Linked DNA regions of Homo sapiens: all the other regions are linked to region 1. The links are contacts of gene promoters, found by promoter capture Hi-C in blood cells and fetal thymus (Javierre and others, 2016). All regions are on one chromosome and are shown on one strand. Each heading gives the region's core, a stretch centred on a gene start or on the middle of the fragment in contact. The rest is flanking DNA. Distances are from core to core; before and after follow the strand shown. Region 1 holds the start of CIMIP4 (ciliary microtubule inner protein 4). Region 2 holds the start of CARD10 (caspase recruitment domain family member 10). Region 3 has its middle 8.8 kb from the start of EIF3D. Region 4 has its middle 23 kb from the start of ELFN2. Region 5 overlaps CACNG2 (calcium voltage-gated channel auxiliary subunit gamma 2). Region 6 overlaps CACNG2 (calcium voltage-gated channel auxiliary subunit gamma 2). Region 7 overlaps ELFN2 (extracellular leucine rich repeat and fibronectin type III domain containing 2).

Evidence for each region. The method cuts DNA at HindIII sites, captures the fragments that hold promoters and counts their contacts. A CHiCAGO score of 5 or more calls a contact.
Region 2: a contact is called between the fragment with the promoter of CARD10 here and the fragment with the promoter of CIMIP4 in region 1, in 2 of 17 cell types (fetal thymus and activated CD4 T cells). The highest score is 6.3, in fetal thymus.
Region 3: a contact is called between a fragment that was not itself captured here and the fragment with the promoter of CIMIP4 in region 1, in 2 of 17 cell types (endothelial precursors and M0 macrophages). The highest score is 7.5, in endothelial precursors.
Region 4: a fragment that was not itself captured here is called in contact with the fragment with the promoter of CIMIP4 in region 1 in 1 of 17 cell types (M1 macrophages); the score reaches 5.4 in M1 macrophages.
Region 5: a fragment that was not itself captured here is called in contact with the fragment with the promoter of CIMIP4 in region 1 in 1 of 17 cell types (M0 macrophages); the score reaches 6.2 in M0 macrophages.
Region 6: a fragment that was not itself captured here is called in contact with the fragment with the promoter of CIMIP4 in region 1 in 4 of 17 cell types (M0 macrophages, M1 macrophages, endothelial precursors and 1 more); the score reaches 6.5 in M0 macrophages.
Region 7: a contact is called between a fragment that was not itself captured here and the fragment with the promoter of CIMIP4 in region 1, in 1 of 17 cell types (naive CD8 T cells). The highest score is 5.4, in naive CD8 T cells.

Annotation. Positions count from the first base shown.
Region 1 is chr22:37,006,054-37,009,794 of GRCh38, reverse strand. It overlaps CIMIP4 (ciliary microtubule inner protein 4), which reads left to right and starts at 1,944. Exons shown (of 6, transcript NM_001163857.2): 1 at 1,944-2,066. The HindIII fragment of the contact is 2,868 bases long and covers 848-3,715 here.
Region 2 is chr22:37,517,689-37,521,429 of GRCh38, reverse strand. CARD10 (caspase recruitment domain family member 10) reads left to right here and starts at 2,015. Exons shown (of 20, transcript NM_014550.4): 1 at 2,015-2,464; 2 at 3,322-3,459. The coding sequence starts at 2,230. The HindIII fragment of the contact is 26,549 bases long and covers 1-3,741 here.
Region 3 is chr22:36,536,139-36,539,879 of GRCh38, reverse strand. It overlaps the pseudogene LOC100500719. Among named protein-coding and RNA genes, the nearest start is that of EIF3D, 8.8 kb to the right of the region's middle. The HindIII fragment of the contact is 1,465 bases long and covers 1,364-2,828 here.
Region 4 is chr22:37,448,370-37,452,110 of GRCh38, reverse strand. No RefSeq gene overlaps it. Among named protein-coding and RNA genes, the nearest start is that of ELFN2, 23 kb to the right of the region's middle. The HindIII fragment of the contact is 1,374 bases long and covers 1,048-2,421 here.
Region 5 is chr22:36,575,719-36,579,459 of GRCh38, reverse strand. All of the region lies in intron 2 of CACNG2 (calcium voltage-gated channel auxiliary subunit gamma 2), which reads left to right. Among named protein-coding and RNA genes, the nearest start is that of EIF3D, 48 kb to the right of the region's middle. The HindIII fragment of the contact is 7,086 bases long and covers 1-3,741 here.
Region 6 is chr22:36,598,628-36,602,368 of GRCh38, reverse strand. The region is part of intron 1 of CACNG2 (calcium voltage-gated channel auxiliary subunit gamma 2); the gene reads left to right. Among named protein-coding and RNA genes, the nearest start is that of EIF3D, 71 kb to the right of the region's middle. The HindIII fragment of the contact is 170 bases long and covers 1,667-1,836 here.
Region 7 is chr22:37,397,093-37,400,833 of GRCh38, reverse strand. The region is part of intron 2 of ELFN2 (extracellular leucine rich repeat and fibronectin type III domain containing 2); the gene reads left to right. Among named protein-coding and RNA genes, the nearest start is that of ELFN2, 29 kb to the left of the region's middle. The HindIII fragment of the contact is 5,659 bases long and covers 1-3,741 here.

The sequences.
Region 1 (3,741 bases), core at 695-3,194:
GGAGGTGAAGAGGCAAGCCATGTAGGCATGTGGGGGAAGGAAGTTGCAGGAGAGGAGAGGGAACAGCCCGTGCAAAGGCCCCGAGGAGGGACTGTGCTTGGTGTGCCCAAAAAACAGCAGAGCCTGGCATGGCAGGGACCCAGGGAGCACTTGGGAAAGTGAGAGGAGCAGAGGTCAGAGAAAAATGGTGGACAGGTTGGGTAGGGCCTTGCAGATAAATGGGAGGATGTCAGCTTTTACTGTGGTTGAGCTGGAAGGTTTTGTTTAGAGGGGTGACATATGATCTAATATAGGTCTTAACAGGATTGCTGGGCTGTTGAGTGAGAAGACTGTCAGAGGATATGGTGGACTCCAGGGTGGTCCCCATATTATCTGCCCCCTCGTGTTCATGCCCCGTGTGACCCTCTCCCTTTCACTGCGGGTGGGACCCGTGACTTGCTTTTAACCAACAGCCTACGGCAAAGGTGATGGATGCCACTTCTGTGACTATGGTACACAACATTGTAATGCCCCATCTTGCAAGGGGACTCCCTCTTTGCTGGCTTTGATGAAGTCAGTGTCATGTTGGTGTTGGGGGGCCCACATAGCAAGGAACTGAGGATGGCCTCTGGCTGACAGCCAGAGAGAGCCTGAGACCCTCAGTCTAACAGACTGCAAGGAACTGAATCCTCCCACAGCCACATGAGCTTGGAAGCATATTCTTCCCTAGTGGAACCTCAGATGAGACTGCAGCCCTGGCCAATACTTGGATTGTAGCCTGCTAAGACCCCAATGCAGAGAACTCAGCTAAGCCATGAGTAGACACCCGACCCAAAGAAACTGTGAGATAACAGTTGTATGTTAAGCTTCGAAGTTTATGGCAAGATTGTCGTGCAGCAATAGATAATACTTAGGCAAGAGATGAGGGTGGCTTGGACCAGGGAGTAGGGGGAGTTGTGGAGGTGGACGAAGGCATCCAAATCTAGTGTACTTCGAAGGACTTGCTGATGGGTTGCTTGCGGAAGTAGCTTAGAGTTTTGTGATGTCTCTCTCTGTGCAAGGCAATGTGCTACATTTTGCAAAAAATTGTTTTATTCGCCCATCACCCTTATCCTTAGTGTTGGGTGATATCTGTTTCACATGTGAAGGAAGTTCAGCTAAAGGACTTGGCCAGTCTCTTATCTAATAAGTGACAGGCCCAGATTCTGGGGACTCCAAGTTTAACCACAGCACTCTCTGTTTCCTGGGGAAATCCTGAAAGGCTGGGCTTGCAGGAGGCGTTCACTATACCCACTCTTTGTCCAGGCTGAGCAACAGCCAGACAGGAATGGGCCAGTGCTGGCACCAATGACTTCTGCCTCCTTCTTCTCTGCAGAAAAGAAGTCACTTAATTTTGTTGATCTCCTTCTGTAGCCCTTGTTGTTTAGGAATAGGAGAGAGGACCCTTCCTTTAGTTTTACTCCCAGGTCCCTGATCCCTGGGTGTCCAAATCAGACAGCTCCAGATGCATCTTTCTCCTTCCCCATTGACCTCGACCTACATTTATGCTGTTATACACATCCATGCCTTTAATATTCTCATCCCTTCAAAACTGTTAAGTTCCTAGGCATCCTTCAAGATCCAACTCAAATGGCTCTTTCATAAGTCCTTCCTCCTTTTTCCTACACAGAGCTAGTTCTTCTCCCTACTTAGTGCTTTGAGCTCCCAAGAACATCTTTTGCACTTGGTAGCATCTGAGCCCCCTGTGCCTGGCACACCTGGCATGTAGTGGGGGCTCAACTGACATTCTAGAGTGGATGAGAGAGTGAACAATAATTGAAGCCCCTCCTGCCTTTTCCTGGCCTCAATCCTGGCTTTCTCCTGGCCTCTTTTCCCTACGGGTGGGCCTATCAGCCCTCTGAGGTAACAGAGCCCTGTGTATAGTGATCACCATGGCAACTCCAATGAACATCTTGGGGAGGGCCACTTCCCAGCAACCATCCATTGGTCTTCACCAGTAGTTCTGCAGTGGGGATCTGCACTTCTGGGCTTCAGCACACATCAGTGTGGTTCACGTGTTTCCTGCTGTTATGAAAGAGATTGGAGAGGTGAGGCAGAGACTTATGAAGGGCCAGGGTTCTTCCAGGACATGGGGTTTCATCTTCCTTCTCCCCATTCAGAGTTGCTTGTGAGTGAAGACTGCCTAGACTGGACTTACCTTCCCGCCCTCTTTGACCAAAGTCTCTTGGGATCTCTCTCTCTGGGTCAGAAACTGGAAGTGAGTCCACACTTCCATTGTAGCCCGTCCAGACTGCTGTGGACTGGCAGTGCACTGGGACGTACAGAGCTGCCGTGGGCACGTCAGGTTGGTGGCTGGGGATAGGAGGAGAAAGAAAACTTGGAGCTAACTTGAACTTCACCTAGCTTGAAGATGTGCAATTTAATTTTAGCCCCACCTGGTGAAGTCCTGTGTCTTTTCGGAGCCTCATTTTCTCCATCTGTGAAAGAAGATAAATTAGTAGTGTCTCCGAACACCTTACTGGGTATTTGTGAAGACCAGACTAATTTACCAGATGTGAGAATGCTTGACATGGACTTGTGTTAGTTATCTCTTGCTGCACAACAAATCACCCCAAAACTTAGTGGGCTTAAGACAACATTTACTATCTCACAGTTTCTGTGAGTTGGGAATACCGGTGGAGTGTTGGTGATTTTTCTGTCCCAGGGTCTCTCACAGGCTGCAATCAAGGTGTTGCTTGGGTCTCTAGTCTCATCTCAAAGCTCGACCAGAGAAGGAACCCATTCACATGGCAGGATCCAGCTACTCTGGAGCTGTTGGCAAGAGGCCACTCTGAGTTCCTTGCCCTGTGGACCTCTCCATAGGGCATCTCACAACAGGGAAACTGGCTTCTGTCAGAGAAGATGAGCTGAGGAGAGCTGCAGAGAGTGTGTGAAAAAGACAGAAGTTGTAGTCTCTTATAAGTTCATCATGGATGCAACATCCCTCATTTTTGCCACATTCCATTCATCACTATGTCCAGTCCACACCAAAGGGGAGAGAATTATACCAAGAAACAGGGATCATTGGGAGCCATGTCAACTGCCTGCCACTCTCTGCCCTCTGGCCCCCAATAATGTACATCCCTTCCACATGCAAAATATAGTCATCCCCTCCTAAGATCTTTAAAATTCTCATCCTATTAAAGCATCAGTTTAAAAGCTAGAATCTGGTCATATAAATCAGCTCCAGGTGTGGCTGAGGCTCCTCCAGTGTCGTTCCTTAAGTACAGCTTCTCAGATTCAATTCTTCCCCATCATAGATCTGTGAAACTAAGTAATTTGCCCTGAACACACCTAACATACAGTGATGTGATAGGCATAGGATAAGAACTAGTGACATTCCTATTCAAAATTGAGGAAAATGGAGACATGGAGTCAATGTTCCATAGCGGTTTTGAAATCCAGCCACACAAATGTTGGACATTCCTTGATTAGGTTTCAAGGCCTGGGGATAATTCTCCATGGCTCTCAGCTCTGCCTTCTGGACTCTTGCATCCACTCTCTGACTTGTCTTTTTTATTTTTATTTTTTGTTCAATGGTATCTTTTCATTTTGTACTGTCTCTATCCCTTTTACCCGAAGTTGCCAACATTTTGCTGATGTTATTTTCTCAACAGTAAAACTTACAGGGGTTCACTCCATTGAACAAAAGTCACACCCCTTTTTAACTGAGGCTCCTGTTGAGGAGCCTTAAGCTTCCTAGAGGTCCTATGGTTCTGTTAA
Region 2 (3,741 bases), core at 766-3,265, 510 kb before region 1:
CTGTCTGCCTCCTGCCTGGCTTGATGCCCACAGTGGGTGGGTGTGTATGTGTGCATGTGTATGTGATGGTGCGTGTGCATGCCTGTATAATTGTACATGTGAATGTGGGAGTGTGGTACCCAAAGGAACTCTGTCGCTTCCCCTGGAATGCTGGGCACCAGGGGCACTCGGTGTACCCAGCTACCTGCCTGTTCAGACCCAGTGTGCCCTCACTTCTCTGTCCACTTATCTGCAGAGACCTCTTGGCTTCTGTGCCTTATCTTTAGGCCCTGCTTAGCTTCTCGATGAAAAAATAATTAACCATAGCCTCATTTTCCAAGGCGTCCATCCCGCTCTGCTGGCCAAGTTAAAAATATTCACGAGGAGTAGGGCTGCTGGTGGGAGGAGCTGCCGCTCTGCGTGGGAGGGCAACCAAGGCCACAGAGAGGGGAAGGACGTATTGAAAGGGAGGTCTGGTGTGTGCCTGGACTCGGGGCTTGGAGAGGACAGAGGCCAGGGGCTGGGCTCCGGCCTATTCCCATTGTGGCCTCGCTGTGTGAATTTGGGCAAGTTCCTTGCCCTCTCTGAGCTCTGCTTCCTCCTTTGTTAATTGAGGAATTTGCACTAGAATTCAGTTCTCCCAAAGCATTTCTTCTGCATGTAAACAGGTGACACCCAAAACAAAAACAAATGTACAACAAATGCAAACCAAAAAAAGGCTGTGGTTAATTAAGTTTGGAAAAGGACACCAGGATATATAAAGTTAAATCTGTTTCTTTACTGCTGGGGCTTTTTTTTTTTTTTTTTTTTTTTTTGAGGGGGAGTCTCATTCTGTTGCCCGGGCTGCTGGAGTGCAGTGGCACGATATCACTGCAACCTCCGCCTCCTGGGTTCAAGCGATTCTCGTGCCTCAGCCTCCCGAGTAGCTGGGATTACAGACGCGCACTACCACGTCTAGCTAATTTTTATATTTTTAGTAGAGATGGGGTTTCGCCATATTGGTCAGGCTGGTCTCGAACTCCTGACCTCAGGTGATCCACTCGCCTCGGTCTCCCAAAGTGTCGGGATTCCAGGCATGAGCCACCGCCCCCGGCCTTAATTTAAGCAGGGCTTTTCAGAGCCTTTATTGATTGAAACCTTAATTCTTTGGATAAGTAATACATATGTCCACGGCATCTAATTCAGAAGTTGTGGAAGGCGATTAGGGAGCTCACACCTCTTTCCTGTACCGGTTGTGCCTCCTCTGTTCCTCCCTGGCAGCAGGTACCTGGCAGCTTCTAATGCATAGCGAGACTGTATCGCATGCACCAGCAGATACCGTGTAGACTCGGCCAGTATCATGGTAAGACACCACCGGCCTCCCAGGCAGGAGCGGGAGTATGGATGGCTAGTCACAGCCCGCCCCCAGCATCTCTGGGACCAACACCTGGAGGAATACCCTTTGAGAATTGTGGGGTCCCTGGTCCTCAAGTGCCACGGGAGTTTGCGTAAGAGGGGAGTTGGCAGTGCTGCCCTGCAGGTTCAGACCCCCATCTTGCAGAAAGCCCCCATGACCTCTGCCCATTGCTGTCCCCCGCGGGGCTGTCCTGCGCTCCAGGGAAGCTCCCGCGCCCGCAGTGCATGTGGGGACCCGAGAAGGGCAAGCCCAGCTTGAGTGCCCGCGGGCTGCGCCGGGCGTGAGCGGCTAGCCCCGCACGGGCGGGCGCGCTGTGGGCGTGGGGAGGCGATGCGCGTGGCCCGGGGAAGGTGTGTCGCGGCGCGCGGGGGGTGTGAGCGCGCCTGCCCGCCCCCGCCCCGCCCAGAGGCCGGGCAGGTGTGGGCGGGCGGCCAGGACCCCGCCGAGCCGGGCTGGAGAGCCGGCGGGAAACAGGAAGCAGGGGGAGGCGCAGCCGGACGGCCGGGAGGGAGGGCGTGCAGACGGACGCGCGGGGTGGCCGGGGGCCGGACGCACGACCCGGGGCGGGCGGCAATGTGGGGAGGCCCGGGCAGCCCAGGAGGCTGCGGGGACGGGGGCGGAGCCGGGGGCGCCACGGGCACCGCCCCCCTGCGCCGGCGGAGCCGCCGCCCGAGTGCGGACCCGGGAGCCCGAGGCGACTGTAGCGTGCGGGGTGAGTCGCGGGGAGCTCGGGGCGCGCCCCCGACGGCGGGTCTGCGGACGACGCCCCGGGGGTGCTTGGCCGCACATCTAGCCCTAGGGAGCCCTGGTCGACCCCCGTGCGCCTCTTGCCCGCAGACCCTGAGGACACGGCCATGCCGGGCCGGGCGGAGGCGGGGGAGGCCGAGGAGGAGGCCGGGGCCGGCTCGGGGTCTGAGGCGGAGGAGGACGCGCTGTGGGAGCGAATCGAGGGCGTCCGGCATCGGCTGGCTCGCGCCCTGAACCCGGCCAAGCTCACGCCGTATCTGCGCCAGTGCCGGGTCATCGACGAGCAGGACGAGGAGGAGGTGCTGAGCACCTACCGCTTCCCGTGCCGCGTCAACCGCACCGGTGAGCCGCGGGTCCCGAGTGGGCCACGACCTGGGCCGGCCGTGCCCTGGGGCGCAGCGCCCACAGCCGTGTAGCGCGAAGCTAGGGCTCTGCTGCCCTGGGGCTCGGTCTCCGCATCAGTAGAGTGGGCCGGCTGGGTATGCCCACCAGCCTGCCTCCTCCCCACCCACCACTGCGCCTTGGCGGTCCGCGTTGCCCACACCGGGGTCAGAGTTTTGTCTCTTGGGGTTCTCTCCCACTTCCTGGGTCCACATTAGAGCAGAAGGTTGGATGTGGCTGCCAGGGCCGGCTGGGCCTGGGACCTCCCGGTCACAGCCGGTGGACTTGGCACCTTTCCTGCGCTCTTTGATCTCCGAGTTCTGTCTGTCCCCTCCTCTGTGCACCATACACTCCTGGGGGAGTCCTTTTTCAAGTGTCAAGATCCGTCTCAGCTTTACGTGGGTCCCCACTCCCACAGGGTGTGCCTTTGAACCAGAACTCAAAAAGGCATGATGGAATGGTCTTTAATGGTGGAATTTCAGGCATGGCCAATGGGAGAAGTATTTTCTTTGCTTCTGGGGATAGAGGGGGCTTCTCTGTGCCATTGAAAAGGCAGGCTGCATTTGCGGGCCGGCATCTGTGTCTGTGGGGGGTGTTGGGGAGCTCTGGGAGCCCAGGAGTCATGAGGGAATGTGCTCCCCTGGCTGTGGCAGAATGGCTCTCTTCTCTTCCCTGATGTGTTGGGACAGGCCCCTGTGTGTGTCACTGGCTCAAAAATCTGGGGAACGTGGGCCTGGAGCATGGTGGGGGCAGAAGCAACCAGGCACCTGGGGAGGCCTTCCCCTAGACCCTGGGTACATCCCCCCACTACTCTGTAGGGCGCCTGATGGACATCTTGCGCTGCCGTGGCAAGAGGGGCTATGAGGCCTTCCTGGAAGCCCTGGAGTTCTACTACCCCGAACACTTCACGCTGCTCACGGGCCAGGAACCCGCCCAGCGCTGCTCCATGATCCTCGGTGAGTGGATCTGCGGTGGATGCTGGCACCTCGGACTCCAGTGCACAGGCTCCTTTCCCCATCCCTGTTAGGGAGGCGCTCCCACTATGCCTGTTGAACAGTAAGGGAAACTGAGGCATGGAGAGGCTGAAGGGGCTTGCCCAGGGCCCCACGGTAGGCTGAGGGTGGGGCTGGGTGCTAGTGCCGTTATTCCAAGTTCAGAGCCACATGCTTAAGATGGCTCTTTCTTCGTGATACTGTTTTCAGACATATGTCTGACATACACAGATGTATAGTTTTTTA
Region 3 (3,741 bases), core at 847-3,346, 470 kb after region 1:
GTTACGGGGATGGGAGAGATGCTGTATAACTTCGGAGGCTAGATCACAGAAGGCAGCATGGCTTCCAGCTTGTTCGCCAGAATACTTGCTCTGAACTCCCCACATGGACTCACTACAGAATGACCCTGAGGCTAAATGGAGAGAGAGAAAAACAGAAGCTCCACCCACACCAAACTATAATGCATGAGAGACCCCAGGTCAGAACCACCCAGCCAAGCCCTCTCCCAATTCCTGACCCACAGAAACTAAGAGATATAATAAAAAGACTGTTGTTGTTTTAAACCACTAAATTTTGGTGTGATTGGTTACACAGCAACAGATAATCAGTAACAGAGGACCATTTTACTTCCCTTCTGCCTAGGGTGACCATACCTCCCAGTTTAAGTGAGACAATCCCAGGGCATAATTATTGATAGTAATCCCTTCGTCACCCCCAAAGTGTCCCAAATTTGAATGGTAAGTCATATGGTCACCCTACATTTGGCCAAGTTCTCAGAACACACTTTAGATTCTGGCAACAACTCTTCACTCACAGCCTAGAATAATCGAAATGCCTGAGGTACCTAGCACAGTGTGTTGAAGAAATCAATGCTGGTTCCTTCTCTTTCTCCTAATTCTGTTCTGTCTGAATGCTCAGCAGTATTTTACCAAGAGATGGCTTCGGGCGCAGTGGCTCATGCCTGTAATCCCAGCACTTTCGAAGGCCAAGTCAGGTGGATCACCTGAGGTCAGGAGTTCAAGACCAGCCTGACCAACATGGTGAAACCTCATCTCTACTAAAAATACAACAATTTGCCAGGCATGGTGGCGGGCACCTGTAATCCCAGCTACTCGGGAGGCTGAGGCAGGAGAATCATTTGAACCGGGAGATGGAGGTTGCAGTGAGCCAAGATCTTGCCACTGCACTCCAGCCTAGGCAACACAGCGAGACTCTGTCTCAAAAAAATAAAATTAAATAAAAAGGAGATGGCTTCAGGAGCAGGCTCAGTCCCCTCACAGTCCCTGGAACACTCTCCCCCAACAAAACCTGCATCCTCCTGAAAGCAGAGTACCTGCTACACAGACACAGCTCCCAGGCAAGTCCAGGGCTACCCCCTTCACAAGACGGCTCTCAGTAAGCCTGTCCCACGGGGAAATTCTGGAGCTGCCGCTGGTATTCAAGATGGGAAGGCTCTGAATTCCTTAGAGAGAGCAGGCAAGAGACAGAGGAGGGGCGAGACAACCCTGCAACCGTCTTTTTATTATCTCTCTTGGTTTCTGTGGGACAGGAATTTGGGGTGGGCTTGGCTGGATGGTTCTGCCTTGGGGCCTCTCGGGCCTCTCGGAAAGGCCTTCTTCACCACCCCTGTAAGGGATGGAAGCTTCTGAGTCCACAAAACTGTTCACAAATCCTGGCTCCACCATTTACTCACTGGGCCAAGTACTCAACGACTCTGAGCTTCTTTCTCCCCACCTGCACGAATGGGAGGGTCCATGGCAATTTCAAGGAACTTTTAGAAAAGAATCAAAGAAGTAATTTTTTTTGTTGTCTTTGTTTTTTTCAGAGAGGAAATTATTTATATAAAGCCCATAGCACAGTGCCTGGCATAAAGTAAGCACTCAATGAATGTTATTTTCTTTTTTAAGACACAGGAGCTTACTACTAGAAAATGTACCTGTCTTACCTGGAAGGGACAGAACAGTACAACAAGAAAGGCCAATGGGCCAGTTGCGGTGGCTCACACCTGTAATCCCAGCACTTTGGGAGGCCGAGGGGGGGTGGATAACATGAGTTTAGGAGTTCGAGAACAGCCTAGCCAACATGGCCAAACCCCGTCTCTACCAAAAATACAAAAATTAGCCAGGCGTGGTGGTGCAGGCCTGTAATTCCAGCTACTCCGGAGCCTGAGGCAGGAGAATTGCCTGAACCCCGGAGGCAGAGGTTGCAGTGAGCCAAGATCGAGCCACTGCACTCCAGCCTGGGTAAGAGAGGGAGACTCTGTCTCAAAAAACTAAAAAGGCCAATCAGAAAACAGAAATAACGGTGTATCTCACTTCTAGACACAGACATAGGGGGATGTATGTATATGGAGGGCCTGGCAGGCACCTGTAGTCCCCCTTTTTCAGTTCAGAAAACATTTCTGTCCCGCAGGCGGGGTGCTGTGCACGCCGCGATCCGCATTTGCAGGACCAGGGATGTTGTGCTGCTCTCCGATGAGGCAGTCACAGAGTCTGTCTGCTGCAGCCCTTTCTGAACCTCTGGCTGTCTGGACGCTCCACTGTGCTCCTTACCAAGATGAAGTGCATCTTGGTGGCCATTGAGGGCACAGAGGCCCTCTTCTACTGGACGGATGAGGAGTTTGAAGAGAGTCTCCAGCTGAAGTTCGGGCAGTCAGAGAATGAGGAAGAAGAGCTCCCTGCCCTACAGGACCAGCTCAGCCCCCTCCTAGCCCCGGTCATCATCTCCTCCATGACGATGCTGGAGAAGCTCTCGGACACCTACACCTGCTTCTCCATGGAAAACAGCAACTCCCTGTATGTCCTTCACCTGTTTGGAGAATGCCTGTTCATTGCCATCAATGGCGACCACACCAAGAGCGAGGGGGACCTGCAGCGGAAGCTGTACATGCTCGAGGCATTTCTCAAATGCACAAACATTGTTTCATGAGCCATTTTAGCCCAGATAGGTCATGGTTTCAGTGGCAAATGCTGCAGGTGGTAGATGCCTGTTACATGAACCACATTGGCCAGTGCAGACCTTGCCAGCATCCGAGATGGCTGCAACCCTGTGTAGGGCCCTGATGATAGACCAGACCTTTCTGTGTTCAGTGGCCTCTGTGTGAGAAGCTTAAGCACCACCCTGGCTCTCTCTAGCTGGGTTTATATGACATGTGTTTGTGTGACAGAGATTGAAGAGTGAGGTGATTTGCTCAGCTGCCTGCCTTCTGGCTCCGTGCCTATCCCACCCCACTCCACAGCTAGAGCTGGGCCAGAAACCCGACCCGCTTTCCCAGCTGTGTGGGCAGGTCACATGGGCTCACCTGGCTCTAACACTGAGCTGGGACTCTGGTCCTTTTGTTGGGTGTGGGAGAGACCAGCTTTCTCGTGGTCTCTCCCGCCCTCTCTGGCTCTGCCCTCAGGCTGCGGCCCCCAGACCTGGGGCAGCGTGTCCAGCTGTGGGAGCACTTTCAGAGCCTGCTGTGGACCTATAGCCGCCTGCGGGAGCAGGAACAGTGCTTCGCCATGGAGGTGATTACTGGGCGCAGGAGTCCGCAGGACTTGGAGCTGTCAGGTCAGAGGCGGCCTTCAGCTTTAAGACCATGTTTTAACCCTAATGAGTGAAGGCACAAGCAGCCCCTGAAACTCGTGTATTCAGACAGAGTTGTTCTTTCTGGCCATATGGAGGGTTGGGTACTCTGATGGGCTTTCCCATGGTAAAACAGCTCGATCCTGGATAATACAGACTTTTAATGTAATTTTTGGGTTCACTGTAAATTACAGAAATCTTTGAAGACAGTTCCTTCAACCCTCCCCTCCTCCTCCCACAAAATTATATTGAGGTGGAACAGGAGGGGAAAGCAGTGGAGAAGAACACAGCGCTAAAGGTAAGATTGCCCTGACTGCAAATGATACCAGCACTACAGGCAGTAAACAGCCTTAGGCCAGCAGCAGCATAGTAAAGCTGAGCCTGCAACTCTAGTTTAAGCCCAGCCCCAAAAAGTTAAAGTGGCTGCTGGTCCTTTTATAAGGCATAGTCAATAA
Region 4 (3,741 bases), core at 485-2,984, 440 kb before region 1:
TTTACGTTTCTTTTGTGGAGATGGGATCTTACTCTGTTGACTAGGCTGATTTCAAACACCTGGCCTCAAGTGATCCTTGTGCCTTGGCCTCCCAAAGTGCTGGGATTACAGGTGTGAGCCGCAGTGTCTGGCCTGCTTTCATTTATCTTGTGTAAATACCTAGGAGTGGAATGGTTAGGTTATAGAATAGGTGTTTATTTAGTTTTTTTCAGCGTCTTAGTCCCTTCCTCTTGCTACAACAAAATATCTGAGATGGGGTAATTCATATAAGAGAAATGTATTTCCCATAGTTCTGGAGGCTGGGAAGTCCAAGATCAAGATGCCTGCAAATTCAGTGTCAGGTGAGGGCCTGGGCTTTCTTATTACATCCTCACATGGTGGAAGGGACAAAAAGGGACAAACAGTTCCCTTGAACCTCCTCTATAAAAGCATGATTCCCATCCAGAAGGGCTCCACCCTCATGGCTTCCTCACCTCCTAAAGGTCTCATTTCTTAGTCCTCTCATATTGACAACTATGAATTTTGGAGGGGACACATACCTTCAAACCATAGCAGGAAGAAACTGCCAAACAGTTTTTCAAAGTGGCTGAACCATTTACACTCCCACTCACTGTATAAGAAAGTTGATCCTCATCCTTCCAACATTTGATGTTTTTGTTCTTTTAAATGTTGCCAGTCTGGCGAGTGTGAATGACAGCTTGAGGTAATTTCAAGTTGTGTATCTCTGCTGCTTGCTCATGGTTGGTGTCTTTTTCAAGTATATATTGAGCATTTTGATACTCTCTTTTGTGAAGTGCCTGTTCATATCTTTTGCCCACTTAAAAATTGTTTTTTTTTCTTATTGATTTGTAGGAGTCCTTTATTTATGCTGGCTACTAGTCCTTTCTCAGATATATGTACTGAAATATCTTTTCTGCATGTGTGGATTGATTTTTCTTTCTCTTGATGGTGTATTTTGCTGAACATAAGTTTTTAATTGTAAGGAAGCCCAATTTGTAATTTTTTCCTTTTATGTCTAATGCTTTTCATGTCTTGTTTAAGCAAGCTTTGCCTATCAAAGTGGATTCCTTTTAACAAGTGAATCTCCCTTGCCTCACCCCATCTGGCTGCTCTCTCTGCCTCCTCATGCCCTATTGGATCTGCCTCCCAGCCCAGTGCTCCCAGAAGCAGGAGTGGGGAAGGTGGAAATGGTATGGGAGATCTGTGGCAAAGTGAAAGGCAAAGCCTAGATTACCCCCTCCCCAGGAAAGGAGATCTGTATCTCCCACCCCCTTCCTTCCCCTGTACAGATTTGGGTTTATGTTGGGCTGCAAGATTAAAGCCAAAGAGATTAAAAGATTACCTCTGGCCAGGAAGGCAAATTCTGCCTCTTTGCTCTTGGAGCTGGTTTGGGGGGAATCGGGGAGGAAGGAGGGCGGGTGGTGGCCATGATGGAGCCGCCTCCACCTCCAGATCCCCTCCTCCGACTTCCTGCTGAGAACCCCTCCCCGTGGTAGACTGAGGCCTAGGCCACCCTTACTGGGTGTGGCCTTGGGCACAAGCTCACCTTTCTGGGCCTCAGTTCTTAAGATGTAGAGTGGTGAGGGGGCTGAGCTGGATCAGCGACACCAACATGGGCTCTAGTGGGTTCTGAGTGTGGCCCCTGGACCAGTGTCCCAGCATCAGCCAGTAACTTGTTAGAAATGCAACCTTGGGCCCTTCTCCAGGCCTACTGAGACAGGAACTCAGGGGGCAGCAATCAGGGTTTGAAAAGCCTCCAGCGAATGAACACGAAGATCTGAGAGCCAGTGTCTTTAATAATGATAACACTTGATAATATTTAGAGCATTTAACTCTATAATCCCCAGTGACTCTTCTAAAGAATATGTATCTGTTGATTAGGATGCAGGTCCTGTAACTCACCCTGCTTTGCACATGAGGAAACTGAGGCACAGAGAGGGGAAGCAGCTTGCCCATGGTGAAACAGCTACTATGGGGCAGAGCCTGAAATTGGACTGGGGAGGCTGGCCGCAGAGGCTGAACTACTGACTGCTGCGCTGTGTGGCGTCGAGTTCCCAGGGCCTTCACAGACACCCACAGCCTTCATCAGCTTCTCCAAGGGGTGGGGGGCTCCAAAAGGCTGATCTCTAAAAGGGGTCCCTAGCACTCAAGGCCCTTTCCTGGCCTCCTTCCAGAGCTACTTGAGATCTGCTCGGACCAGGAAGGACACCTTCCTGCTTCCTCTCCTTGTCTTTGGGGGCTGCTAGGAAACCCCGTGGCTGAGGCTGCGACAGAGACACACAGTGCTAGATGTCTCGGAGATTCATCCACGCCTCAGGTCCTATTTCCTCACTCAGTATTTAGTGAGACCCAGCCAGAGAGGGGTAGAGGCTGGCAGAAAGCTGGAAGCTGAGAGAAGGCAAAAAGGGGAAGAGAAAAGCTTTCTATTAATTTTATGATCCTCGCTGCTAGCCCCCTCCTGCCGCTAGGGATGGTGAACTTCCCCCTCTCCCCTCGATGCTGAAAAGCGATCAAGGAACAGCCACGGCAGAGATGAGGGAGCTGATTTATGGGGCAGCCCTGGGAGCAGGAGTGAGCACGCTGGCTGGGAGGCAGCCATCCATCATGGCTCCCTGGAGAGCAGAGAGGGCCTTGGTGCCCAGCTCCACCGCCTGCTCCTGCCCGGCCCCCGCCTGTGCCCCCACTGGGTCACCTGTCCTGCCCTGTTCTCTGCCAGGTCACCAAGGGCCCTGCTTTCAGGGAGGGGACCTTGCCTCAGAAGCTTTGGGGCCACCAGCGCCTGTGCCTCTCACTTTCCTTCCTCAGTTCTCTTGGGCCTGCAGCCCCTTTGTACCTTGGAGTGAGGTGGGTTGGGAGGAAGGACCCCTGGGGAGGATGCTGGGCAAGTCCCTTCTCTAGATCTCAGTCTCCTCATCTGTAAAACGAGGGCTTCAGCCCAGCCCAGCCCATCCCAGCCAGCCTCCCAGGGCGGGTTGTAGAGGGGAATGGCGTGGCTGTGAGCTGTGAAATGTGAGGCTGTAACGAGGCCCTCGCCTCTTACGGCTGTATTCCTGCATGTGTGCTGGGCTGCGGGGGCGGAGGGTCTGAGTGCGTGCTTTGTATGCCACACCTCTCTGTATGTGCAGGTGTGTTCACCTGTGCATATGCACAGTGAGTCCAAGCTGCCGACGCACGCAAGGTGCATGTGCGTGCGTGTGTGCAACTGCACTGACAGCCGGGAGCGGCAGCTTCCGTGTAGCTCCTCCCCTGCCCACCTGGGAGGACCCCTCTGGAGGGGTGGTGGGGGCGTGGCTGGGTGTTCATGCCCAGGCCCATCCAGCTGGTTGTTTATTGATTAATTCTGCTGCCAGCTGATGAATGCCAAGCCTGTGCCAGGCGCAGGCCCTGGGCTGATTTACATAATTAAAAACCATCAGTAACAAAGCCAGGCCTCACCCACCAACTGCTTCCTCCAGCATGACAACAGGCTGGGCCTCCCTCCAGCACCCCACCCTGTCCTCTGTACCCCAAGGCTTTTCTTGCCCCCCCGATCCCTCAGCCTCCCTGCCTGCCCTGCTCTGTGACACCAGCTGTTGTCCAGTCAGTGATGGAGAGAGTGCAGCATCGTAGGATTCTCCAGTCACTGACTTCGAGATTCTATTAGTCGGTGGCTCTGAGGTTCTTTGATGGAGAGTCTCAGATTATAAGATTCAGCCATGAGCCTCCCAGAATGTGATTTTTCAAGAGTCTATTACTCTATGT
Region 5 (3,741 bases), core at 312-2,811, 430 kb after region 1:
TATATGTATTTGACAAGACAGCCGGCAGCTTTTTTTTTTTTTTTTTTTTTTTTTTGAGACAGAGTTTCACTTTTGTTGCCCAGGCTGGAGTGCAGTGGTATGATCTCAGCTCACTGCAACCTCCACCTCCTGGGTTCAAGTGATTCTCCTGCCTCATCCTCCCAAGTAGCTGGGATTACAAGTGTCTGCCACCACGCCCAGCTAATTTTTTGTATTTAGTAGAGACGGGTTTTTACCATGTTGGTCAGGCTGGTCTCAAACTCCTGACCTCAGGTGATCCACCCACCTCGGCTTCCCAAAGTGCTGGGATTACAGGTGTGAGCTATCATGCCCAGTCGAGCTGGCAGCTTTTACTGACAGCCTGGATGGGAGAAGTAAGAGAGAGGTCTTGTGGATGGCGAGGAGTTCTGGCTGGCAGATGGGGCAAACATTACTGCCCTTCTCTGAGGCTGGGAATGTAGGACGAGGCTGCTGTGCGGGGAGGTGACCACTCTATTGCCGGTCTGTTTCATCTTGGTTTCTGTTACGGAATCTTCTCCCCACGGACTGTGAACAGCTTGAGGACACCACAAGGAGTGGCTGCAAATAGAGTGTCCTCCTCCCACCCATCCACCCCCTCCAGCACAGGGCCTTTCCCAGGATCAGACCCAGGAGAGGTTTGCTAAGTGAATAAACAAGGTACCGCCCGCCCTAGGGCAGCTGGCATGTTCACCCTCTTCCCAGAATGAGGTCAGAGGAGGATATTGGGTGTCAACCTGGGCCAGAGCCACCCTTCCTGGCCTCAGACAGTGTCCCTCCTTCCCATTGCCCCTCTCTCCCCACCTCCACCAGTCCCACCAGGGAACATGAGCCAGGGAAGTGTGGGGAGACCAGGTGTCAAAACCCGAGGTTGTTACTTAGAATAAAAGGGCCTGAATTCAAGGGGTGCTCCACTCTGTGACCTTTGGCAAGTTACACAACTTCTCTGAGCCTCCCGTGAACAGTGCTTTTTTAGGTCTCCCCAGAGCCCCAGTGGAACAGCATGAGGGGCGTCCACCAGGCTTCACCCGCCTAGAGTTTTAGAAGTGTAATGATCCATCATTCCGGCTTTTTTTTTTTTTTTGAGATTGAGTCTCGCTCTGTCACCCAGGCTGGAGTGCAGTGGTGCCATCTCGGCTCACTGCAACCTCCGCCTCCTGGGTTCAAGCAATTCTTCTGTCTCAGTAGCTGGGATTACAGGTGCACGCCATCACACCCAGCTAATTTTTTGTATTTTTTTTTAGTAGAGACGGGGTTTCACCATGTTGGCCAGGTTGGTCTCAAACTCCTCACCTCAAGTGATCTGCCAGCCTTGGCCTCCCAAAGTGCTGGGATGACAGGTGTGAGCTACCGCACCCAGCCCATCATCCTAGCTTAGGATCACCCAGCCCCACCCTCCCATTTTACAGATGAGGGAAAAACGGAGGCCCAAGAGGGAAAATGACCTGCCCCAGCCCGGCACACTTTCTGGGACTGCACCCTGGGAGCATTATCCAGGTCCATTATCCTGCTACCTGTCCACTGCCCAGGGCTCTCAGCCCCTTCTAGAAAACATTGCCATGAGGGGGCTTCTGAGAGACATCCCCTCCAGAAGTCATCACAACCAGTGCGGCTAAAACTATTGTGACCCCACCCCATGGTTAGGAAACATCTAAGCTGCCACTTGTACTCACTCACATCTGCAGAACCAGAGCAAAATGTTCCCCAAAAGCCACCCAGCCTTCCTGAACGCACACTGGCCGGCAGTTTCTATTCTGTCCTAGTTCATTTCTTTTTTTTTTTTTTTTTTTTCCAAGACGGAGTCTCACTCTGTCGCCAGACTGGAGCGCGGTGGCATGATCTCGGCTCACTGCAACCTCCGCCTCCCCGGTTCAAGCGAGTCTCCTGCCTCAGCCTCCCAAGTAGGTGGGACTACGGGCCTGCGCCACCACGCCTGGCTCATTTTTGTATTTTTAGTAGAGACCGGGTTTCACCATGTTGGCCAGGATGGTCTCGATCTCTTGACCTCGTGATCCACCCGCCTCGGCCTCCCAAAGTGCTGGGATTACAGGTGTGAACCACCGCGCCCGGCCCCGGTTCATTTCTTTAAGGGCTGGTTGCTACCACTACACCGATTTCATGACCTAGTAATGAGTCACAACCCACACTTTAATAAATAGCAGCCTCAGTAACCCAAAGCCCGGTGAGAGACAGCAACAATTTGCTCCGCTGGAATGATGAGCACGATTTGCTGGTGCTCCTCGCATACCAGACATTATTCTCATTGCTTCAAGTGTGTGTACTCAGTTACTCCTCATAGCACCCTGTGAGCTAAGTGTGCTTGTGATCTCCATATGGCAGAGGGGGCAGCAGAGGCCCCCGGGGGACCAGGTCACAGCTAGGAAGATGGACTCCGGCAGCCTTTCTCCTGAGCCTGTGCGACTGGTCACCAATCTCTACTGACAGCAGGAAGCAGGGATGTATCCGGCATCCTGCACAGATGGTACTCCCCAAGTTAGCTCCCTGGGCTCTCAAAATGCTTTTCATGTGCTATTATATATAGCACACGTTCATTGAACACTTGACGATGTGCCAGGCCTGACACTTGAAACATTATCTTAATTCATCTTCACAACCACCCTATGAGGGTGAGATGATCAGTGTCCCCATCACACAGATGGGAAAGGCAAGGCACAGAGGCTACAGAGCCAGTGGGGGTCCAGGAGGAGACCCCAAGCGGGCTGCATCTGGAACCCATGCTCCAAACCATAGCGTTTGACTTCTCTTTCTATTTCTCACCCACCATCTTTGTTCTCCTCTTTCTTCTTTGAGGTCTTTCTGACTCTCTCTCTCTCACACACACACACACATACACACACACACACACACGCACACACAGAGGCATTTTGGAGTGTTTTTTTTTTTAATTTTTTATTTCCAGAGGTTGTTGGGGAACAGGTGGTGTTTGGTTACATGAGTTAGTTCTTCAGTGGTGATTTGTGAGATTGTGGTGCACCCATCATCCAAGCAGGACACAATGAACCCAATTTGTAGCCTTTTATACCTCATCCTCTCCCCACCCTTTCCCCCTGAATCCCCAGAGTCCATTCTATCATTCTTATGCCTTTGCATCCTCGTAGGTTAGCTCCCACTTATGAGTGAGAACATATAATGTTTGGTTTTCCATTCCTGAGTTACTTCACTTAGAATAATAGTCTCCGATCTCACCCAGGTTGCTGCAAATGCCATTAGTCATTCCTTTTTATTGCTGAGTAGTATTCCATCATATTTATACCACAGTCTTTATCCACTCATTGATGGATAGGTATTTGGGTTGGTTCCACAATTTTGCACTTGCAAATTGTACTGCTATAAACATGCATCACACAGGCATTTTTTGAAACGCATCCCTTCTCACGGCCATTGGCTACACCAGCCAGCACAGCGTGGAAGGAGAAGATGGGAAGAGATGCCCAAGAGACTAGAAAGCTCCTTGCAACCCAGCAGGTCTGTGCAGGTCTGTGACTGTAGACTGTATCCCCTAATGCGGATTGATCCTAATGATCCTAATTCATCCTAATGATGAGTCAAATCCCAGATGGGATAAGAGCATAACACTAGGCACAGAAAATGAGGAACCTGCCCGCTACATACCTGATTACGGTGACTATTTTGATTCAAGGTCATTACTCGCACAGGGAACAGGTAAGGCAGCAGCATGGCCTGGCTGTATGGGCCCTGGGG
Region 6 (3,741 bases), core at 502-3,001, 410 kb after region 1:
TAATAATAAATACATATAAAAGACTATTTTAACAAACAACAAAATGAAAGGGCAATGTACAGATTGGGAAACACATTTGCAAACCATATATTAGATAAGGGTTAATATCTGAGTTTTTAAACATATATTCTTGTTTAAACTAAAGTCTCAATATCCAAGATTTATAAAGAACACATACAACTCAATAGCAAGAAAATGTATAACACAATTTAAAAATGAGCAGAGGACTTTAATAGGCATTTCTCCAAAGATGACATTAAAATGGCCAATAGGTAAATGGAAAAGTGTCCAACGTCACTAATCTTCAGGGAAGTGCCAATCAAAATGACTGTGAGATACCACTTCTCACCCGTTAGGAGAGCTATTATCAAAAGACATGAGATAACGAGTGTCGGCGAGGGTGTGGAGAAAAGGGAATCCTCGCACACTGTTAGGTGGGAATGTAGGTTGATGCCACCATTATGGAAAATAGTATGGAGTTTCCTCAAAAAAAAATAAAAATAGAACTCCCATATGACCCAGCAATATGTCTTCTGGTATATACCCAAAGGAAATGAAATCACCACCTTGTAATGATACCTACACTCCCCAGGCGCAGTGGCTCACGCTTGTAATCTCAGCCCTTCAGGAGGCCGAGGCGCATGGATCACAAGGTCAGGAGTTCGAGACCAGCCTGGCCCACATGGCGAAACCCTCTCTCTACTAAAAATACAAAAATTAGCCAGGCGTAGTGGCAGGCGCCTGTAATTTGGGAGCCTGAAGCATGAGAATCGCTTGAACCCAGGAGGCGAAGGTTGCAGTGAGCCAAGAGTGTGCCATTGCACTCCAGCCTAGGCAACAAAGGGAGACCCTGTCCCAAAAAAAAATAAAAAATAAAAAAGGTATCTACACTCCCATGTTCATTGCAGCAATACTCACAATAGCCAAAATATGGAAACAATCTAGATGTCCATCAATGGATGAATGAATAAAGAAACTGTGGTGTTTACATACAATGGAATATTATTTCTGATTCAGCCTTTAAAAAGGGAGAGATCTGTCATTTGCCACAACATGCATGAAACTGGAGGACAATACGCTAAGTGAAATAAGCCAGACACAGGAAGAAAACTATTTTATGACTCCACTCATATGTGGAATCTTTACCAAAAAAAAAAGTCAAATATCAAGTATGTAGAGATAGAGAATAAAACAGTGGTTACCAAGATCTGGGGTGAGAGGGAAGAAATGGAGAGATATAGGTCAAAGGATTCAAAGTAGCAAATATACAGGGTGAACAAGTCCAGAGCTCTAATGTACAACATGGGGACTATTGTTAATAATATTGTATTGTATTCAGGATTTTTGCTAAATGAGATTATAGCTGCTCCTGGCACACAGGGAAAAACTGGGTACTATGTGAGATGATGGATGTGTTAGTTTTTCCACTATAGCAACCATTTTGCTGTATATATGTAATCATACAACATCATGTTGGATACCTTAAAGTATACACAATAAAATGCACTTAAAAAAAATTTTAGGCCGGGAGCGGTGGTTCATGCCTATAATCTCAGCACTTAGGGAGGCCAGGGCGGGCAGATCACCTGAGGTTGGGAGTTCCAGACCAGCCTGGCCAACATAGTAAAACTCCATCTCTACCAAAAATACAAAAGTTAGCCAAGCTTGGTGGTGCGTGTCTGTAATTCCAACTACTCAGGAGGCTGAGGCACAAGAATCGCTTGAACTCGGGAGGCAGAGTTTGCAGTGAGCCAAGATCACACCACTGCACTCCAGCCTTGGCAACAGAGCAAGACTCCGTATCAAAAAAAAAAAAACAAATTTAAAAATCAAGCTTTTTTAAAGACTATTTTAACTTGTACAGGTTATGTTCATTAGGATTAGGCTTGGCTATAAAGTTTCCCGCATTTTTTTTTTTGTTTTTTTGGTTTATTTACCTAAAATTAAAAAGACAGGACGGGTGTGGTGGCATGCACCTGTAGTCCCAGCTACTCAGGAGACTGAGGCAGGAGGATCATTTAAGCCCAAGAGTTCGAGGTCACAGTGAGCTATGATCATGCCACTGCACTCCAATCTGGGTGACAAAGCAAGAACCTGTCTCTAAAAAAATTAAAAGTAAGAAAATAAAGATAGTTGATAGTTTATTTCTTTCTCGTTGCACAGCTCTGGAGATAAGTTATCCAAGACTGGTATAACACTCCATGGGAGTGTGGCTCAGATACCCTTTATCTTATTCTACCATCATGCAGCTCTCCATTCTCAAGATTGTCTCATTGACCAAGATGGCGGCTGGAGCTCCTTAGTCCACTTGCCAAGAGGAAAGGACTGAGAAGGGCACATCCCATGCCCTAAAGGCCATTCCTCCCAAGTTGTTCCCATCATTTCCACTCACATCCCATTGGCCAGAACTTTGTCACATGACCACCTCCAGCTGCAAGCGAGGCTGGGAACTAAAGCCTACGTTCTGGGAAGCCATATGTCCAGGCAAAACTTGAAAAGAACAAGACATATTTGGAAACAGCCTCTGTCACAGCAGGGAATAAAGAATAACAATAAAATGAAGAGTGCCTATGCACTCATTACGAAGTTAAAAAATAGAGCATTCCTAGGACATTGAAGCAGTTGTGTGCCCTACCCTATCTCAAGAAAACATTCTTTTTTTTTTCTTTGAGACAGGGTCTTCCTCTGTCACACAAACTGGAGTGCAGTAGCATGATCATGGCTCACTGCAGCCTCAACCTCCCAGGCTCTAGCAGTCCTCCTGCCTCAGCATCCCGAGTAGCTGGGACTACAGGTGTGCACCACCATGCTTGGCTAATTTTTTATTTTTTTGTAGAGACAGGATTTCGCCATGTTGCCCAGGCTGGGTTGGAACTCCTGGGCTCATGCGATCCTCCCACCTCCACCTCCCAAAGTGCAGGGATTACAGGTGTGAGCCACCACGCCCAGCTGCAAACACTCTTAAACTTGATGTTTATCATTCCCTTGCTTGACTTTACAGTTTTGCCACATACACATGTATTTCTAAATAATCTATAACATGTTTTTAACTTAATGAAAATGGAATCATACCATATGCATTTTTCTGCAGCTTGATTTTTTTCTGTCCAGTGTTATGTTTGTGGAATTCATCTGGGTTGACTTGTGTAGCTGTAATTCACTAACTTTCACTGCTGTACACTACATTACATCAATATACTATGCTATCATTTCTCCGATAATAGAAATCTGGGCTATTCCAAGTTTGTTGTTGTTATAAGCAGTGCTGTTATGAACATTCTCATACATCGTGTGCATGTATGCAAGTGTTTCTTCAACACACATTTCTAAGCAGAATTGCTGAGTTGCAGGCTATACGTATGTTTTGATATATTCAAATAGATTTGGATTGGGGGCAGGGTCTCACTCTGTCACCCAGGCTGGAGTGCAGTGACATGATCTTGGCTCACTGCAACCTCCGCCTCCCAGGTTCAAGCAATCTCCCACCTCAGCCTCCCGAGTAGCTGGGACTACAGGCGCGTGCCACCACACTTGGCTAATTTTTGTATTTTGGGTACAGACAGGGTTTCACCATGTTGGCCAGGCTGGTCTAGAACTCCTGATCTCAAGTGACCTGCCCACCTTGGCCTCCCAAAGTGCTGGGATTACAGGCGTGAGCCACCGTGCTCGGCCAGATATAGTCAAATAGGTGTCTTTTGTTTGTTCGTTTGTTTGTATTTTTGTTTTTGGGGAGTTGTTTTG
Region 7 (3,741 bases), core at 520-3,019, 390 kb before region 1:
GCCCTCGTTTGATCTCCACCTTTAGATCCCTCTACAAGAAGGCAAGGCAGGGCCTGTGTCCGGCATGGACTCTCTCACGCTTTTATTTGTTCAAGGAAACTCTTGAACTCCTGTTCTGGGCCGGGTGCTGGGACCCTGGCGGGGAGTGAGGCCATGTCCTTCCCTCCAGGGGCTCAGGGGCTGCTCCCAGCAGGCGTGCCCACCGAGGGTGGGTGGGGAGGCTGAGGGGGCCTTGGGGAGTCCTGGCACCCCTGCAGGCCTCAGGCTCCCATCTGTCTAATGGGTGACAGCGAAGAGGTTTAAGCTCTTCCAATTCTGCCAGGCTGTGATTCTTGGTAGTCAGGTTTGGTCACCAGGCACCTGCTAGGAGGCCCTAAGATGCCAGAATGCCTTTGCCCCAGCCCTGCCCAGGCAGCCCTGGCCCTCCAGGTGGCTGAGGTGCTCCTCAGGCACAGGTGTGTGGGCCTCCGGGGGTGAGGGGAGGGGACAACTGCCCCTGCTGCTACCCCCAGGCCCGTGTCAGTGGGGGCAGCTCTCTGTCCACAGTGGGAGTCGGCCTGTGGACAGAAGGTGAAGTCTGATTGGACCGGAGTGGGGTGGGATGGGGGTAGACACGAGGGGGTGGGTCAGCATCTCTGAGTGGAGTGGAGGGTGGTTGAGGCCCCTGACCTGGGAGGATAATAACCCCGCCTTTCCTTACATTCTTCTCCCTTGCACTCCCTTGCCCCTCCCGGTTTCCTAGGGACCTGCTGCATGGGCTGGGGACGTGGAGGGCTTGGCCTTTGGAGGCAGGGAGGGGGTGGTTGCAGGCCTCACCCTGCAGCAGCCTGGCTTTGGGCAGTTGTTTCCCTTCTCTGTGCCTCAGTTTCCTCCTCTGTCCTTTGCGAATGATGCTGGTTTGAGGGTTCAGTGGGTGCTGAGGAAGCACGTGGTCAAGCTCTGCAAGCCCTTCCTTCTTTCATTTACCAGGAGGAGCAAGGCGGCCATGGCGGGGAGGTGGTGGCTGGAGCAAGTGAGTGAGGTGGGAGGTGAAGAAGTGAAGTCTGGGAAGATTTTGGATACTATTCCAATCTCATGGGAGCCAGCAGCCGGTGAGGGCAGAGGCCGGTGGCCCAGGTGTGCGACGCAGGGGGCTCAGTGGGGGTGGGAGAGGTGGGCTGATGGTCCCCGTGGTCGGTGGAGGTGGGAGAGGTGGGCTGGTGGTCCCCGTGGTCGGTGGAGGTGGGAGAGGTGGGCTGGTGGTCCCCGTGGTCGGTGGAGGTGGGAGAGGTGGGCCGGTGGTCCCCGTGGTCGGTGGAGGTGGGAGAGGTGGGCTGGTGGTCCCCGTGGTCGGTGGAGGTGGGAGAGGTGGGCCGGTGGTCTCCGTGGTCTGATCAACTTGCTTGCTGTGCCTCCAGGCACTCAGGGGTGGCACAGGAGGGAGCATGTTTCCTCAGCAGACAGTTCTCAAGGAGCCAGTATGGGCCTGGGCATGAAAAGAGTCCCTGCCCTCAGGAAGCCCACACAGGGGCAGACTTGCCAGCCAGTCCTTACAGGGTGGCTGAGGCCTGGTGGGCTGGAAGGCTTCCTGTAGGAGGCAGCTTTGAGTCCTGCCTGAGAAGTAGCACTCACTGGGCGGGGATGGGACAGGAGGGTACTCCAGGCCGGGGAATCTCAAGGGGAAAGGCCAAGAGCTGCAAAAAGCCTCTCCGAGTTCAGAGAGGGGTAAGAAGCTCACGTGCCCATCCCTGGGAGTGGGGAGGGAGGATCCAGGAGTCTGGGGAGGACACCAGAGGCCCCTGAGCTCCCTCCGGGCCAGGAAAAGGCTGGACGCTGTGTCTTCCAGCAGCAGGGAGCATGTATGTGTTTGGGAACAGGCCAGGTGGATGCTGTGTTCCAGGAAGGAGCTGGTAGGGGAGCTGAGGAATTACAGGGGGTGTTTCTTGGAGGTGCTGTTCTGGGGTTGGGCTGGAGGTGGGAAGGTGGGTAAGGCAGGAGTGGAAGTAGAGGCCCAAGCAAGGGAGGAGCCTAGGAGATCCCGCACCAGCTGGAGAGGTGTACATGTGTGCACATGTGTGCACACATGACATGTGTAGATGCGTGTGTGTGCACGCCTGCGTGTGTGAAGCGGGGAGCAGTTTGTCTTGATGGTATTGGAGGGCACATTGCAGAGACAGAGCCAAGCCAGATCATGAGGGGCCTAAACTGTGGAGCAGAGGAGCTGGGGAGGCGCCAGAGGCTTTAGAGCAGGGCGGCGATGTGAGTGCGCTGCGGGAGGCTTCCTTGGGCTGCTGTGCAGAGGATGGGCTGAGGCAGGGTAGGCGACAGTCAGTTAGGAGACTGCTGTGCTGGGGGGCTTTACTGGGGTAGGGGGAAGGGGCCGGACAGGAGTGGGGTGGTGGAGCCCAGGGCGGCTCAGTGGAAGAGGTAGCATTTGATGAGAATGTAAAGGGTGAGAGGTTTGCTTTCTGGAAGTGGAAGGAGAGGCACGGCAGGTGGCTGGAACAGTCCCTACGAAGGCTTGCAGGAGGGAGAGGCCAGGCTGGAGGCCAGTATATTCAGGGGCCTTTGAGGAATAAAGGGCAGGTTGGAGTCAAAAAATAATGTTGTTTAGTGAGGCCCTCCATGTGCCCGGCACGGTCTACCCAGGCCTGAGCGCTAGCTCCACCGCCCACAGCTGCCTGGCTCTGGGTAAGGCGTTTGACCCTGGCACCTTCATTGTCTATCAAATGGGGACCCTGTTAGACTCAGCCTCCCAGAGTCACTGTGAGGATTAGATGCAATAATCCACCCGCAGCGTGGCCTGGAAGATGTTCGGCTGTTATTGGCTGTGTCCTTACCGTCTCATTTGACACAGCAACCCTGCAGGGCAGCCTCGCACCCCCAGGGACCAGTGCAGACGTCCGCTCAGAGAAGCTGCGCGGGCTGCCGAGGCCACACAGCTGAGGGGAACCGAGCAAGGGTCTGAGTCCAGGTTATGAGGACCCCAGACTTGGTGTTCTTTCCCGGGTGCCCACAGCCTCCCAGAACGCCTGTAAAATGCCCAGCCCGGTAGCTCGTTCCCCTCCTTGTGCTTAGGAAGCTCCTGGATCCAATGTAAGAAGAAGTGGGCAGGAGACCAATGCCGATCTCTGGGTTCAGGTCGGCTGCTTGCTCTTGGAGCCTCAGTTTCCTCATTTGGAAGTGAGAGCCCCACGTCCCCACATAAGAAGGTCACGCGGGGCTCCCACAAGGCCAGCAGAGTCAGCTGACCTTGGGGTCTAGGCGAGGCTTCCAGCAGGGGCTCTGTCCACGTTCCCCCTCCTTTCCCTGTCCCTCTGCACCCGTCTGACCAGACTGTCCTGTGGGCAGGGCCAGCATGGGAGCCATCGTACTGGACGGCTTCCTGATGGTCACAGCAGCCAGAAGGAGCTGGGAGGCCTGGCTGTCATCAGTCATAATAATGGGCACACTCAGCGTGGGTGGGGGTGAGCGAGTGGAGACGGATGCCAGCTGGGAATTACATGCCTGGGGGCCTATGTTGTTCTTTTGTGTTTTCAATTTTCACTCCCTGGGTGCCTTCTCCATGCCAGGCTTCTCACTGGGGGCACTGAGGGGGCACAGAGGGGCACGCCGTGCTTCCTGGCCCTCTGGAGGGGACACAGTGACCCTTCAGTGGGATGCCACTTGGAGCTGGTGAGCATGGGGGTGCTGTGGAGTGGAGTGGTGAAGCCAGACCAGGGATTCAAGGAAGGCTTCCTGGAGGCGGTGATGCCCGAGCTG